3 separate regions of the Homo sapiens genome follow, and regions 2 and 3 are each linked to region 1. Evidence: promoter capture Hi-C in 16 types of primary human blood cells and fetal thymus (Javierre and others, 2016). All regions are on one chromosome and are shown on one strand. The core of a region is centred on a gene start or on the middle of the fragment in contact, and the rest is flanking DNA. Distances in the headings are between cores, read along the strand shown. Region 1 holds the start of NPIPB7 (nuclear pore complex interacting protein family member B7). Region 2 has its middle 4.5 kb from the start of NUPR1. Region 3 overlaps SGF29 (SAGA complex associated factor 29).

The links. Contacts are between HindIII fragments. The CHiCAGO score rates a contact against its expected background, and 5 or more counts as called.
Region 2: a fragment that was not itself captured here is called in contact with the fragment with the promoter of NPIPB7 in region 1 in 12 of 17 cell types (monocytes, M0 macrophages, M2 macrophages and 9 more); the score reaches 13.2 in monocytes.
Region 3: a contact is called between a fragment that was not itself captured here and the fragment with the promoter of NPIPB7 in region 1, in 2 of 17 cell types (M2 macrophages and monocytes). The highest score is 6.2, in M2 macrophages.

Annotation. Positions count from the first base shown.
Region 1 is chr16:28,470,612-28,474,852 of GRCh38, forward strand. It overlaps NPIPB7 (nuclear pore complex interacting protein family member B7), which reads right to left and starts at 1,725. Exons shown (of 7, transcript NM_001396030.1): 1 at 1-1,725. It also overlaps a transcript of CLN3 not described here. RefSeq lists a silencer at 3,215-3,284. The HindIII fragment of the contact is 21,132 bases long and covers 1-4,241 here.
Region 2 is chr16:28,541,383-28,545,516 of GRCh38, forward strand. No RefSeq gene overlaps it. Among named protein-coding and RNA genes, the nearest start is that of NUPR1, 4.5 kb to the left of the region's middle. The HindIII fragment of the contact is 1,028 bases long and covers 2,115-3,142 here.
Region 3 is chr16:28,583,456-28,587,727 of GRCh38, forward strand. SGF29 (SAGA complex associated factor 29) reads left to right here. Exons shown (of 10, transcript NM_138414.3): 3 at 1,458-1,533; 4 at 2,193-2,265. Among named protein-coding and RNA genes, the nearest start is that of SULT1A2, 11 kb to the right of the region's middle. The HindIII fragment of the contact is 953 bases long and covers 1,760-2,712 here.

The sequences.
Region 1 (4,241 bases), core at 475-2,974:
GGAGGGGAAGGGGAGGGGAGGGGGAGGGGAAGGGGAGGGGAAGGGGGGAAGTAAGGGAAGGGAAAGGAGGAGAAGGGGGCTGTTGGGCACCTGGAGGAGGTGGAGGAGGAGAAGAAGAAAGGGGTCTGGGAAAGGATCCGGTTCAAATTAAGTTCTCAAGCGCTGGTGGAAGGTTTAGCTACAGGTCACGGAGAAGATCAGGGAAGCAACAGGACACGCGGGGCAAGGGAGCGTGAGGCTTAGGAGCAATTAGAGGGAGACAAAAAGGTTCTGCTATCCGCCAAACCTTCTTCGGTCTGGGCCCTCCCTTAGCAAACCTGGGGCTTTATACTCCCTCTCCACCAATCCCTGATGACCCCGGTGGTGCCTCACAATGGACAATGCCAAGTAGCGCCCGCATCATTCCAATGACCCCTCCCCCATCTCAGTCTCCCACACTCCTCGCAAGGACAGGTCCTCTCTGGAACCTTCACAAACCTGATTTCTGGTCCTCCCCAACCAGCTCCCTGTCCCTGCTTCTGGGCGCTCCTTCCTTCCTGAGCTCCCAGGGTTCCTCAAGGTCACTTTTGGCGACAAAACATAAAAAACAAATGATGGCAGGATGGCAGGAAGAACCTCATACCCAAGCAGAGTGCCAGGTTTTACAGCCTCCGCTCAGCCATTCATATCCTAAGCAACAAAACATCAGCAGGATGCGGAAGGTCCCGATAGTAAACCATCTCCATCACATCCATGTAGCCATCCGTCCATCAACCCGTATCTCAGGAACAAATGTAGATACATTCATTTTAAGCAAGCATGGTACATTTACAAAAATTAACCTGACTTATTTTGTTCCAGCAAATCTCAATATATTTGAGAGCAATCAAATCACACAGCACGTTTCTGATCATATAACTGTGCTAGAAGTCAATGATTAAAAGCTAATTCAAAATTATTATTTGCTTGGAAATTCAAAGTGCCCTTATAAGACATAAACATAAGAAAGAATCCAAAATGAAACAAGATTGCCTTTCAACTCAATGATAAGATCATAACATGGCAATAAAATGTCTCCCTCTGGCCTGGGAATTCCTCTTTGTGGCACAAGGTTGTGTGATCTCAAATCACCCCTAACCCACCTAGACAATTTAACATCCGAAACCGAGTGATGATGTCCTTATCTATAATCATCTTACTGCCTGTGTGTGTGGACTTTAAATTCTGAACCCAAATGAGGGGGAGAAAACCAAGTTGACCTTCATGATTGACCTCTCAGGGATGTCCAAGGAATCTGTGCATGGTGGCACCTGCCTGTAGTCCCAGATACTTGGTAGGCTGAGGCAGGAGAATCACTTGAACCTGGAAGATGGAGTTTGCAGTGAGCTGAGATAGTGCCACTGCACTCCAGTCTGAGCAACAGAGCGAGACTCCGTCTCCAAAAAAAAAAAGTTGGAGGATTCACATTTCCTATTTTCAAAAGCTCACTACAAAGCTATAGTAATTAAGACAGTGTTGTATTGGTGTAAGAATAAACCTGGGTCTGGTGCAGTGGCCCACGCCTGTAATCCCAGTATCTCTGGAGGTCAAGGTGGGCAGATCATTTGAGCTGAGGAGTTTGAGACCAGACTGGGCAACATAGTGAGACACCGTCTCTACCAAAAAAATGTACAAAAGGTAGCTGGGTGTGGTGGCTAATTGGGAGGCTGAGGCAGAGGAGCCCAGGAGTTCAAGGTTACGGTGAGCTATGATCACGCCACTTCACTCCATCCTGGGTGACAAAAACCCTGTCTCTAAACAAAATAAAAAATAAAAGTAAAAATAAAGTTAGCAGTTAGGGTCTACTATGTTAACTTTTTTCTGCACAGACTGCTGTATCACACCACCTGCAAAAAAGTTAATTCAAAATGAAAACAAGATCTAAATGTAAGAGCTAAAACTATAAAACTCTTAGAAGAAAATGTAGGAGGCTGGGCGCGCTGGTTCACGCCTGTAATCCCAGCACTTTGGGAGGCCGAGGTGGGCGGATCACTTGAGGTCAGGAGTTTGAGGCCAGCCTGGCCAACACGGTGAAACCCCGCCTCTATTAAAAATATAAAAAATTAGCTGGGTGTGGTGGCACACCCTTGTAATCCCCGCTACTCAGGAGGCTGAGGCAGGAGAATCGCTTGAACCCGGGAGTCTGGGCAAAAAGAATGAAACTCTGTTTCAAAAAAAAAAAAAAAAAAAAAGGAGATGGGGTTTCACCGTGTTAGGCAGGATGGTCTCGATCTCCTGACCTCGTGATCTGCCCGCCTCAGCCTCCCAAAGTGCTGGGATTACAGGCGTGAGCCACTGCACCCCGCCCCTCTTTGTTTGTTTTTTAAGAGATAGGGTCTTGCTCTGTGCCCACATTGGGGTGCAGTGGTATGATCATAGCTCACTGCAGCCTCGAATTCCTAGGCTCAAGTGATCCTCCCACTTCAGCCTCCAGAGTAGCTGGGAGTACAGGCACGCAGCACTACACCTGGCTTATTTTATTTTTATTTTTTGAGACAGGGTTTCATTCCTGTCACCCAGGCTGGAGTGCAATGGTTCAATCTCAGCTCACTACAACCTCCACCTCTCGGGCTCAAGCAATTCTCCCGCCTCAGCCTCCCAAGTAGCTGGGACTACAGGCATACCTTGCCAGGATAATTTTTTCTTTTTTCTTTTTTTGCCATGATGCCCAGACTGGTCTTGAACTCCTGGCCCAAGTTGTCCTCCTGCCTCCCAGAATGCTGGGATTATAGGCATGAGCCACCACGCCCGGCCTCCTTTTATCATTATTTTAATTTTTTATAGAGATAGAACCTTGCAATGTTGCTCATGCTGGTCTTGAACTCCTGGTCTCAAGCAAACCTCCCGCCTTGGCCTCCCAAAGTGCTGGGATTACAGGCATGAGCCACTGCACCTGGCTCCCACTTAGATATGTTACCAGAAGCACAAGCAACCAAACAAAAAATAGATAAATTGGACTTCATCAAAATAAGTGTCTTTCCGTACCAAAAGACAATATCAAAAAAGTAAAAAGACAACACAGAATGGGAGAAAATATTTGCAAATCATGTATCTTATAAGGGACTTCTGTCTAGAATATATGAAGAAATCTTACAACTCAAAAAGACTTCAGATCTCTGGCTCTTTAATAAAAAAAGACAATCCCATTTAAAAATGGGCAAAGGATCTGAGAAGACATTTCTCAAAGAACTATATGTACGGTCAATAAGGACATGAAAAGATGCTCAGCATCATTAGTCACCAGGGACATGCAAATCAAAACCACAGTGAGATACCACTTCACACTCACTAGAAAGGCTATAATAAAAACCAAACCAGACAACCAAAGGAAAAAAAAAAAACAAAAACGGAAAAGAGGCTGGGCACGGTGGCTCATGCCTGTAATCCCAGCACTCTGGGAGGCCAAGGCCGGTGGATCACCTGAGTTTAGAAGTTGGAGACCAGCCTGGCCAACATGGCGAAACCTCGTCTCCATAACAAATACAAAAATTAGCCAGGTGTGGTGGTGGGTGCCTGTAATCCCAGCTACTTGGGAGGCTGAGGCAGAAGAATAGCTTGAACCCAGAAGCGGAGGCTGCAGTGAGCAGAGACTGCGTCACTGCACTCCAGCCTGGTGACAGAGCAGGACTCCATCTGAAAAAACAAAACAAAACAAAAACAAAAAACAACAACAAAAAAGAATTAGCCAGGTGTAGTGGCGCATGCCTGTAATCCCAGCTACTTGGGAGGCTGAGGTGGGAGAATCACTTGAACTCAGGAGACTGAGATTGCAGTGAGCCGAGATAGCACCACTGCACTCCATCCTGCGCAACAGAGCGAGACTGTCTCAAAAATAAAAAAAAAAGAGGGAGGCTGAGGCAGGAGAATCACTTGAACCGGGGAGACGGAGGTTGCGGTGGAAAAAGAATGGAAAAGAGCAAGTATTGGTGGGGACGTGGAGTCCTCGTACACTGCCAGTGGAATGTAAAATTGCAGCCACTTTGGGAAACAGTCGGGTAGTTCCTCAAAGGATCAAACAAAATTACCATCAACCCAGCAATTCCACTCCTTGATATTATCCAAGAGAAATGGAAAACATGTGTCCACACAAAAACTTTACCCAAACATTTATAGCAGCATGATTCATAGTTAAGTCAAAAAATTGAAACCCCAATATCCATCAACTAACAAATGGATAAATAAAATATTGTGGCTGGGTGTGGTGGCTCATGGGTAATAATCCC
Region 2 (4,134 bases), core at 1,379-3,878, 72 kb after region 1:
TCGTGCCACTGCACTCGAAAAAGAAAAAGAAAAGAAGGTTGGGGCCGGGCACGGTAGCTCACACCTGTAATCCCAGCACTTTGGGAGGCCGAGGTGGGTGGATCACGAGATCAGGAGTTCGAGACCAGCCTAGCTAAAATGGTGAAACCCCGTCTCTACTAAAAATACAAAAATTACCTAGGCGTGGTGGTGTGTGCCTGTAATCCCAGCTACTCAGCAGGCTGAGGCAGTAGAATCGCTTGAACCCAGGAGGCAGAGGTTGCGGTGAGCTAAGATCGCGCCACTGCACTCCAGCCTGGACGACAGAGTGAGACCCGGTCTCAAAAAAAAAAAAAAATGCTTAGCGCAGTGCCTAGAAGATAATCAGTGTGCAATAAATGCTTGCTATTTTAATTATCATTATTCTCGGGGCAGGAATCTTGCCTGCCATATTGTATCCTCAATGCCTGGCACTCAGTCTGAGCTCAGTAAATGTCTAGTTGAATACATGAGGCTCTGCTAAGATCAGTGTTGCTTGCTCAGCTTCCACCTGCTCTGCAATGCAGGAACTGAGAGGCGAATTGTAGCCTCACAGGGGACCACAGAAACACTGTGATTGTCCCAGATGGAGCCAGGGAAGGAGGTCTCCCTGGCCTTGATCTTACAGGTGCTGGAAGAAAGAAGCCTATGAGAGAAGGAGGAAGGGCATGGTGGCTCACGCCTGTAATCCCAGCACTTTGGGAGGCCGACGAGGTTGGGTGGGTCACCTGAGGTCAGGAGTTGGAGACCAGCCTGGCCAACATGGTGAAACCCCGTCTCTACTAAAAATACAAAAATTAGCCGGGTGTGGTGGCGGGCACCTGTAGTCCCAGCTGCTGGGGAGGCTGAGGCTGGAGAATGGCATGAACCCGGAAGGCGGAGCTTGCAGTGAGCCCAGATCGCGCCACTGCACTCCAGCCTGGGCGACAGAGCGAGACTCCATCTCAAAAAACAAAACAAAACAAAAAAAAGGGCCAGGCGCGGTAGTTCACGCCTGTAATCCCAGCACTTTGGGAGGCCGAGGCGGGTGGATCACCAGGTCAGGAGTTCAAGACCAGCTTGGCCAACATGGTGAAACTCCGTCTTTACTAAAAATACAAAAATTAGCTGGGCGTGGAGGCATGCACCTGTAATTCAAGATACTCGGGAGGCTGAGGCGGAAGAATCTCTTGAACCCAGGAGGCAGAGGTTGCAGTGAGCCGAGATCACGCCATTGTACTCCAGCCTGCTGGAACCCCTCTAGCATGGATCTGCAGGGCTCTAGACGTGGCTCCATCTAGACGTAGAGGTGTGCTTTTTGTTACAGGAACAGCAGATTTGTATGCCTGCTGCCCTGTCACAGCCCTATTACACTGGACAGCAGGGATGCAGTAGAGAGAGTTTCATGATCACAGGGCACTGTGCAAGGGGATAGGAGGAGACCTGCGAATGCATCTCCCCAGGGAATTCTGGGATGGGGCTTTTAAGGGGATTATGGAGGGTGAGAGGCTAGAAAATTGGGGTCATTGGTCAGAGCAAGGGAAATGAAATCATCATGATGTGAAAAAGACATTTTTGGGGAGTTAGCTCCTGGTGGGGTCCTTCAGGCTGGCGGAGTCAGTCGCTTCACCGGCACGCAGGACCTGAAGGAATTTCTCAAAAGTAACATTTAATGTTTCATAACGTTCAAGTTGCTATCTCTAGTGCAGTTAAGGGGAACTATGATCTTGTAACCAGGTCTACGTGATTCTAGAACAGCAGGCACCAGACAACTAAGAGGAAGCAGATCAGGGGGCAGCTGACCTCATGATCAGCGCTGGGTGTGCTGCAAGCCTGGCTTGTTTCCATTTCTCCTCTCTGTTCTCTGATTAATTGCATGAGGTTTACAGGGATGGTTTCATTTTCCCATCCTCAAGCCTCCAGGTGCATGTAAAATCTGCCACGAGGAAGTTTATTTTCTTCCTGCTTAGAGTTACACCTTCGTGACGTTGCTAGGCACACCTATGACAACCCAGCGCCATCAGCTTGGAGTAAACGCAGAGGGCTGGGAGCTCCCAGGAGGGCACCTAACCTCTCTGGAGATAGGGAGATGAAGGCACACTTCCTGGAGGAGGTGAAGCTTGTTTTCTAATTCTTTTATTTTTAATTAATTAATTAATTTAATTTTAATTTTCTTTTCTTTTTTCTTTTTTTCTCTTTTTTTTGAGACAGAGTCTTGCTCTGTCACCCAGGCTGGAGTGCAGTGGCACGATCTCGGCTCACTGCAACCTCCGTGTCCCGGGTTCAAGCGATTCTCCTGTCTCAGTCTCCTGAGTAGCTGGAATCACAGGCATGCACCACTACACCCAGCTAATTTTTGTATTTTTAGTAGAGACAGGGTTTCATCATGTTGGCCAGACTGATTTCAAACTCCTGACCTCAAGTCATCCACCCGCCTCGGCTTCCAAAGTGCTAGGATTACAGGCATGAGCCATCGCACCCGGCCTATTTATTTATTTTTGAGACAGGTTCTCACTCTGTCGTCCAGGCTGAATACAGTGGAGCAACCTTGCTCACTGTAGCCTCGACCTCTAGGGCTCAGGGGATCCTCCCACCTCAGCCTCCCAAGTAGTTGGGACTTTAGGCACGCACCATCATGCCCAGCTAATTTTATTTTTTGTAGAGATGAGGTCTCCCTATGTTGCCGAGACTGGTCTTGAACTCCTTGGCTAAAGTGGTCCTCTTACCTCGGCCTCCCAAATAGCTGGAATTACAGGCGTGAGTCACCACGCCAGGCCTGGAGGCAAAGTTTGAACAAGAATGGCTGTTTGTGGGCCAGATGCAAAGGCTGACACCTGTAATCCCAGCACTTTGGGAGGCCGAGGCAGGAGGACTGCTTGAGCCCAGGAACTCAAGACCAGCCTGGGCAACATAGCGAGATCTCATCTTTACAAAAAAAATCCAAAAGTTAGCCAGGCGTGGTGGTGCATGCCTGTAGCTCCAAGTACTCAGGAGGCTGAGGCAGGTGGATGACTTGAGCCCAGGAGGTTGAGGCTACAGTGAGCCATGATCGCACCACTGCACTCCAGCCTAGGCAACACAGCAAGACTTCCTCTCTGTTGGATAGCCTGAGGGATGTACGAAGTCACTAGCTCAAAGGAACAGAAGCTTCCCAGGCTGAAGGCAGAATACGTAATTAAGGTGGATTGGACATCGCTGTGTTCCAAGAGGACACAAGAAATCTAAATGAGGTTAAACAAAATATATCCATATGATCTCACAACCCCATCCCAGATAAAAATGTCAAATCTGGCAGCTGCATTTGCAAGTTTTCTTGGCTGTGTGATATCATCGTTTTAAATATCAGTGGATGCTGTCTTTTTTTTTTTTTCTTTGAGATGGAGTTTTGCTCTTGTTGCCCAGGCTGGAGTGCAGTGGCGCAATCTCGGCTAGCTGCAACCTCCGCTTCCCGGGTTCAAGCGATTCTCCTGCCTCAGTCTCCCTAGTAGCTGGGATTACAGGCAGATGCCATGATGCCCAGCTAATTTTTGTATTTTTAGTAGAGACGGGGTTTCACCATGTTGGTCAGGCTGGTTTCGAACTCCTAACCTCAGGTGATCCGCCTGCCTCAGCCTTCCAAAGTGTTGGGATTACAGGCATGAGCCACTGCGCCCAGCCAGATGCTGTCTTTAATGGGTGGTTTGGCAACATTGATAAGATTTTGAAATGCTTATATCCCCCTGATATTGCAGTCCCACTTTCAGGAGTCTCTCCTACAGAAATCTTCCCAGAGGTGAGTAAAGAGGCAGGTACAAGGAAGTTCATTTGTTTGTAGTAGTGAAAAACAGGAAACCCAGCCTGGGCAACATAGCGAGACCCCATATCTTAAAAAAAAAAAAAAAAAAAGACTGGCATGGTGGTGTGTACTTGTAGTCCCAGCTACTCAGGAGGATGAGGCAGGAGGATGGCTTGAGCCATGATGGTGCCTCTGCACTCCAGCCTGGGCGACAGAGCAACACCCTGTCTCTAAAAAAAGCAAAAACCAAAAATCGGAAACAACCTAAATGTCCATCAGTAGGTGACTGATCAGTTTCCTTCTGTGAAACACTGTAGCCATTCAATACTCTTTAGAGAGAGAATGTATCTCTATCTCTGATG
Region 3 (4,272 bases), core at 986-3,485, 110 kb after region 1:
AGCACTAGGCAGCTAGCTAGCTGTGTTCACTGTTAACCTCATTTTGCAGGTTGAGGTAAAGGCGCAACCCACCCATCAGGCACTTAAAAATTCTCACATAAAGGCTAAAAAGCATAGTCATAATTTCTTTCTTAGGATCTGTCTCAGTTTCCAGCATCTGCAGTTGCAGCTCTGCTCCCAGGATGACTGATATGGGAGGAATTGCACCAGCATTCTTCCCCACCCCTTCTTCTCCACATCAATTGATCATACCTGTATGTGTCTATTTCTGGACTCTGAATTCTGTTCTGTTGATCTATATGCCAGTACCACACCATCGTGATTACCGTAGCTTCGTAATAAATTTTGAAATTGGGAAGTATGAGTTCTCCAACTTTTTTTTTCTTTTTCCAAGATTGGGGATAATCTGGGTCCCGTGAATTTCCATATGAATTTTAGGATGAACTTGTCAATTTCTGCAAAGAAGTCAATTAGAATTTTGATGGGGATTGCGTTGACTGTATAGATTGATTTGTCTCTTTGATAAAGGACTATCATTAAAGATATCACTTATGATTTAACTTTAATGCCTTCTTTTTTTTTTTTTTTTAACAGTCTCACTCTGTCACCCAGGCTGGAGTGCAGTGACATGATCTCAGCTCACTGCAACCTCAGCCTCCCGAGTAGCTAGGACTATACGCACATGCTACAATGCCCGGCTAATTTTTGTATTTTTAGTAGAGGTGGGGTTTCATCATGTTGGCCAGGCTGGTCTTGAACTCCTGATCTCAAGTGATCTGCCCACTTTGGCCTTCCAAAGTGCTGGGATTACAGGCTTAAGCCACTGCACCAGGCCCTTTAAGGCCTTTTATAATGCTTTTGCATTAGTCAAAGGAGAAAATCATCTTGAACTCCTGAATTTGGATTTAGAAAATGAGGGCCATAGCCGGGCGCCCTTGCCTGTAATTCCAGCACTTTGGGAAACCGAGGCAGGTGGATCACGAGGTCAGGAGTTCAAGACCAGCCTGGCCAAGATGGCGAAACCCTGTCTCTACTAAAAATACAAAAAATTAGGCCGGGCGCATTGGCTTACGCCTGTAATCCCAGCACTTTGGGAGGCCGAGGCAGGCGGATCACGAGGTCAGGAGATCGAGACCATCCTGGCTAAGACGGTGAAACTCCGTCTCTTCTAAAACTACAAAAAATTAACCAGGCGTGGTGGCGGGCGCCTGTAGTCCCAGCTACTCGGGAGGCTGAGGCAGGAGAAAGGCGTGAACCCGGGAGGCGGAGCTTGCAGTGAGCCGAGATCGTGCCACTACACTCCAGCCTGGGCGACAGAGTGAGACTCCATCTCAAAAAAAAAAAAAAAAAAAGAAAATGAGGGCCGTATTTTGGGGATGGGGACTCTGGCCTGGCTGGCAGGGTACCACAGCAGCACAAAGGGCCACCGTCATGTCCTGCTGCTCTTTTCCTTACAGGAAGAGCGTTCGCGGAGCGAACACAACTTAGTGAACATCCAGAAGACCCATGAGCGGATGCAGACAGAGAACAAGAGTGAGTAGCTGGGCTCAGGAGAGAAAGGGGATGAGATGGGGCTAGGGTGAGTATGGCCAAGACTGTGACCGAGGTGGTCATTGTATTCAAAATAGATTTGCATGTATCTGCATATTCCAAAATGCAGCAGGAGGGACAGCTTTCCGTTAATCTGGGTGACCTGAAGAACTAAAATCCCTCTACTCTGAGGATTCGAAAGGCAGTGAAATGAGGCTGTATCTAGGGAAGCTTGCCCTTAGAGCACACAAGCGCCCCAGTTAGCTGGTGTTTTCTAGAAAGGAGCTTCCTTCCCAGGCGGCCCCTGCATCTGCCCTGAGGCCCTCAGGTGGTGAGATCCTGGGGCTGGGGCTTTCTTACTCTGGGTAACTCTGAGAATTGTGTTTTCCTGGGTCCTGACAAATATTTTCTGTGAGTGTCATGATGGAGAAAAGGTAAGACAGTACTCTCGCAGATGTAGGGATGGCATTTGTACCATATGGAAATGCGGACTCATGGAGCCTGGGGGCATCCGCCTCAGGAGCACTCCTGAGCCAGCAGAGCTCTGACTGCAGCTACGGCCTCTCTGTGCCTCCACGAGTGTGATTCCGGTGCATGGAAGCAGTGCCATGCTACTGTGCCTGCCCTGGCCCTGCCTCCTTATCCCTGTGTTTCCTCTGCAGTTTCTCCCTATTACCGGACAAAGCTGCGTGGCCTCTACACAACCGCCAAGGCCGATGCAGAGGCTGAGTGCAAGTGAGTACCGTGCACCCACTTCATCGCCGCTCCCTCCTTTCCTGGGGGCTGGGCTGCAGGTCCATTTGGACCAAGTCCCCAGCCTGCCTTCCTCCCATGGATAAGCTGATTGCTACTCCCAGCCTCTCGCTTGGGTCCCGCATTCCCTGGCCCACTGCCAGGCCCACTCTTCCAGTTACCTCTGCTGCTAATGCCTTTACAGAAGGTGGCAAGGCGTGAGTCAACACTGCCGTTTACTGGCTCTATGACCTTGGCAGAGTCATTAAAATAGGGATATCAGGGGCTGGGTAGCTCAGATCTGTAATCACAACATTACAGAGGTGATTGGGAGGCCGAGGTTAGAGGATCACTTGAACGCAGGTGTTTGAGACCAGCCTGGGCAACAAAGTGAGACTTTGTCTCTACAAAAAGTTTTTAATTAGCTGAGCGTGGTGGCATGTGTCTGTAAGCTTGGCTGGGAAGTCATACTCAGATGACCTGAAGGTTTTATGGTTCTGAGATGGAGAAGTTTCACTTCCAGAAAACTCCTGCTTTTAAAATAATCTTAAGGCCGGGCAGGCACAGTGGCTCATGCCTGCAATCGCAAGGTGGGTGGATCACCTGAGGTTGGGGGTTTGAGACCAGCCTGGCTAGCATAGCGAAACCCTATATCTACTAAAAATACAAAAATTAGCCAGGTGTGGTGGCGCACGCTACTTGGGAGGCTGAGGCAGGAGGCGGAGGTTGCAGTGAGCTAAGATCGTGCCACTGCACTCCAGCCTGGGCAACAGAGCAAGGCTCTGCCTCAAAAAAAAAAAAAAAACTAAAATAAAAAAATGATCTGGAAACACTGTTTCCTTGAATCTCTGCAGGAGATTCAGGAACTTGAACATTACATTCCTCTACTTTGAGAACACACTGGTTCTGAAGTCTGACTGTGCCCAGAGGCTCTGTTTATTTGGGGTGGAGCTCCAACATTGGTATTAACTATCTGACATTTCCTCACTAGTAGGATTCATGCTTTACACTTTTGGCACAGAAGAGGTGTCTCTGGTGGGTCATATTAGACGGCACAGGATGCTGTCTGTGCCATTGGTTAAAGTGGTATTTTCCACGTTTCTCTTGTATCAGATTACTGCTATTTTCCATTGTGTGATTGATCGATTAAGACAGGGTCTCAGTCTGTCATCCAGGCTGGAGTGGAGTGGCGTAATCATGGCTCACTTCAGCCTCAAACTCCTGGCCTCAAGTGATCCTCCTGCCTCAGCCTCCTGAGTAGCTGGGACAATAGGCACCTGCCACCACTCCACCTAATTTTTGTATTTTTTGTAGAGAGGGGTTTTGCCATGTTGCCCAGGCTGGTCTTGAACTCCTCAGCTCAAGCGATCCACCCACCTTGGCCTCCCAAAGTGCTGGGATTACAGGTGTGAGCCTCTGCACCTGGCCTCCATTGCATAATTAATAAGTGTCTTGGGAGATACTTTTGAGACTGTAACTATCCTGTTCATATCAAACACACTAGTTTTAGCATCCATTTATGATTTGTGCGTGAAACAATTGAGATTTTTTAAACTTCCCCCAGGAGATTCTGATGCCCACCAAGGTTTGAAAGCCACTTCAGTAACATGTCACAGAAGACAGTTTAGGACAGGCTGTATAAAACTGTATCCTCCACACAGGCCTGGCAACAGTGATGAGACTCTCAGAGTTCCCTTTGGCCCCGTGGCTCTTTCTCCTTCTCTGCTTTCTGGGGTCCCGGTGCTCACAGCCTGAGGTGGCACTGGCTGGGCCATCCCTGCATTGTACGCAGCAGGCAAGCTGTTCCTTGTCCCTGCGTTGGTTTGGCTGCCCTTGGCCTACCTCCATCTTCTGGCCCTGGCCTGGTGAGGTCCATGAGTCACATGCCCTGGGGCACCCCCGGACACCTCCCGAGATGCTGCATCACACCCAGTTCCTGTGCATCTCCTTCCTGCCGCACAAAGGTCTTTAGAACTCCGGGTCATTTCAGAAAGGCTTGCCAGAGGAATG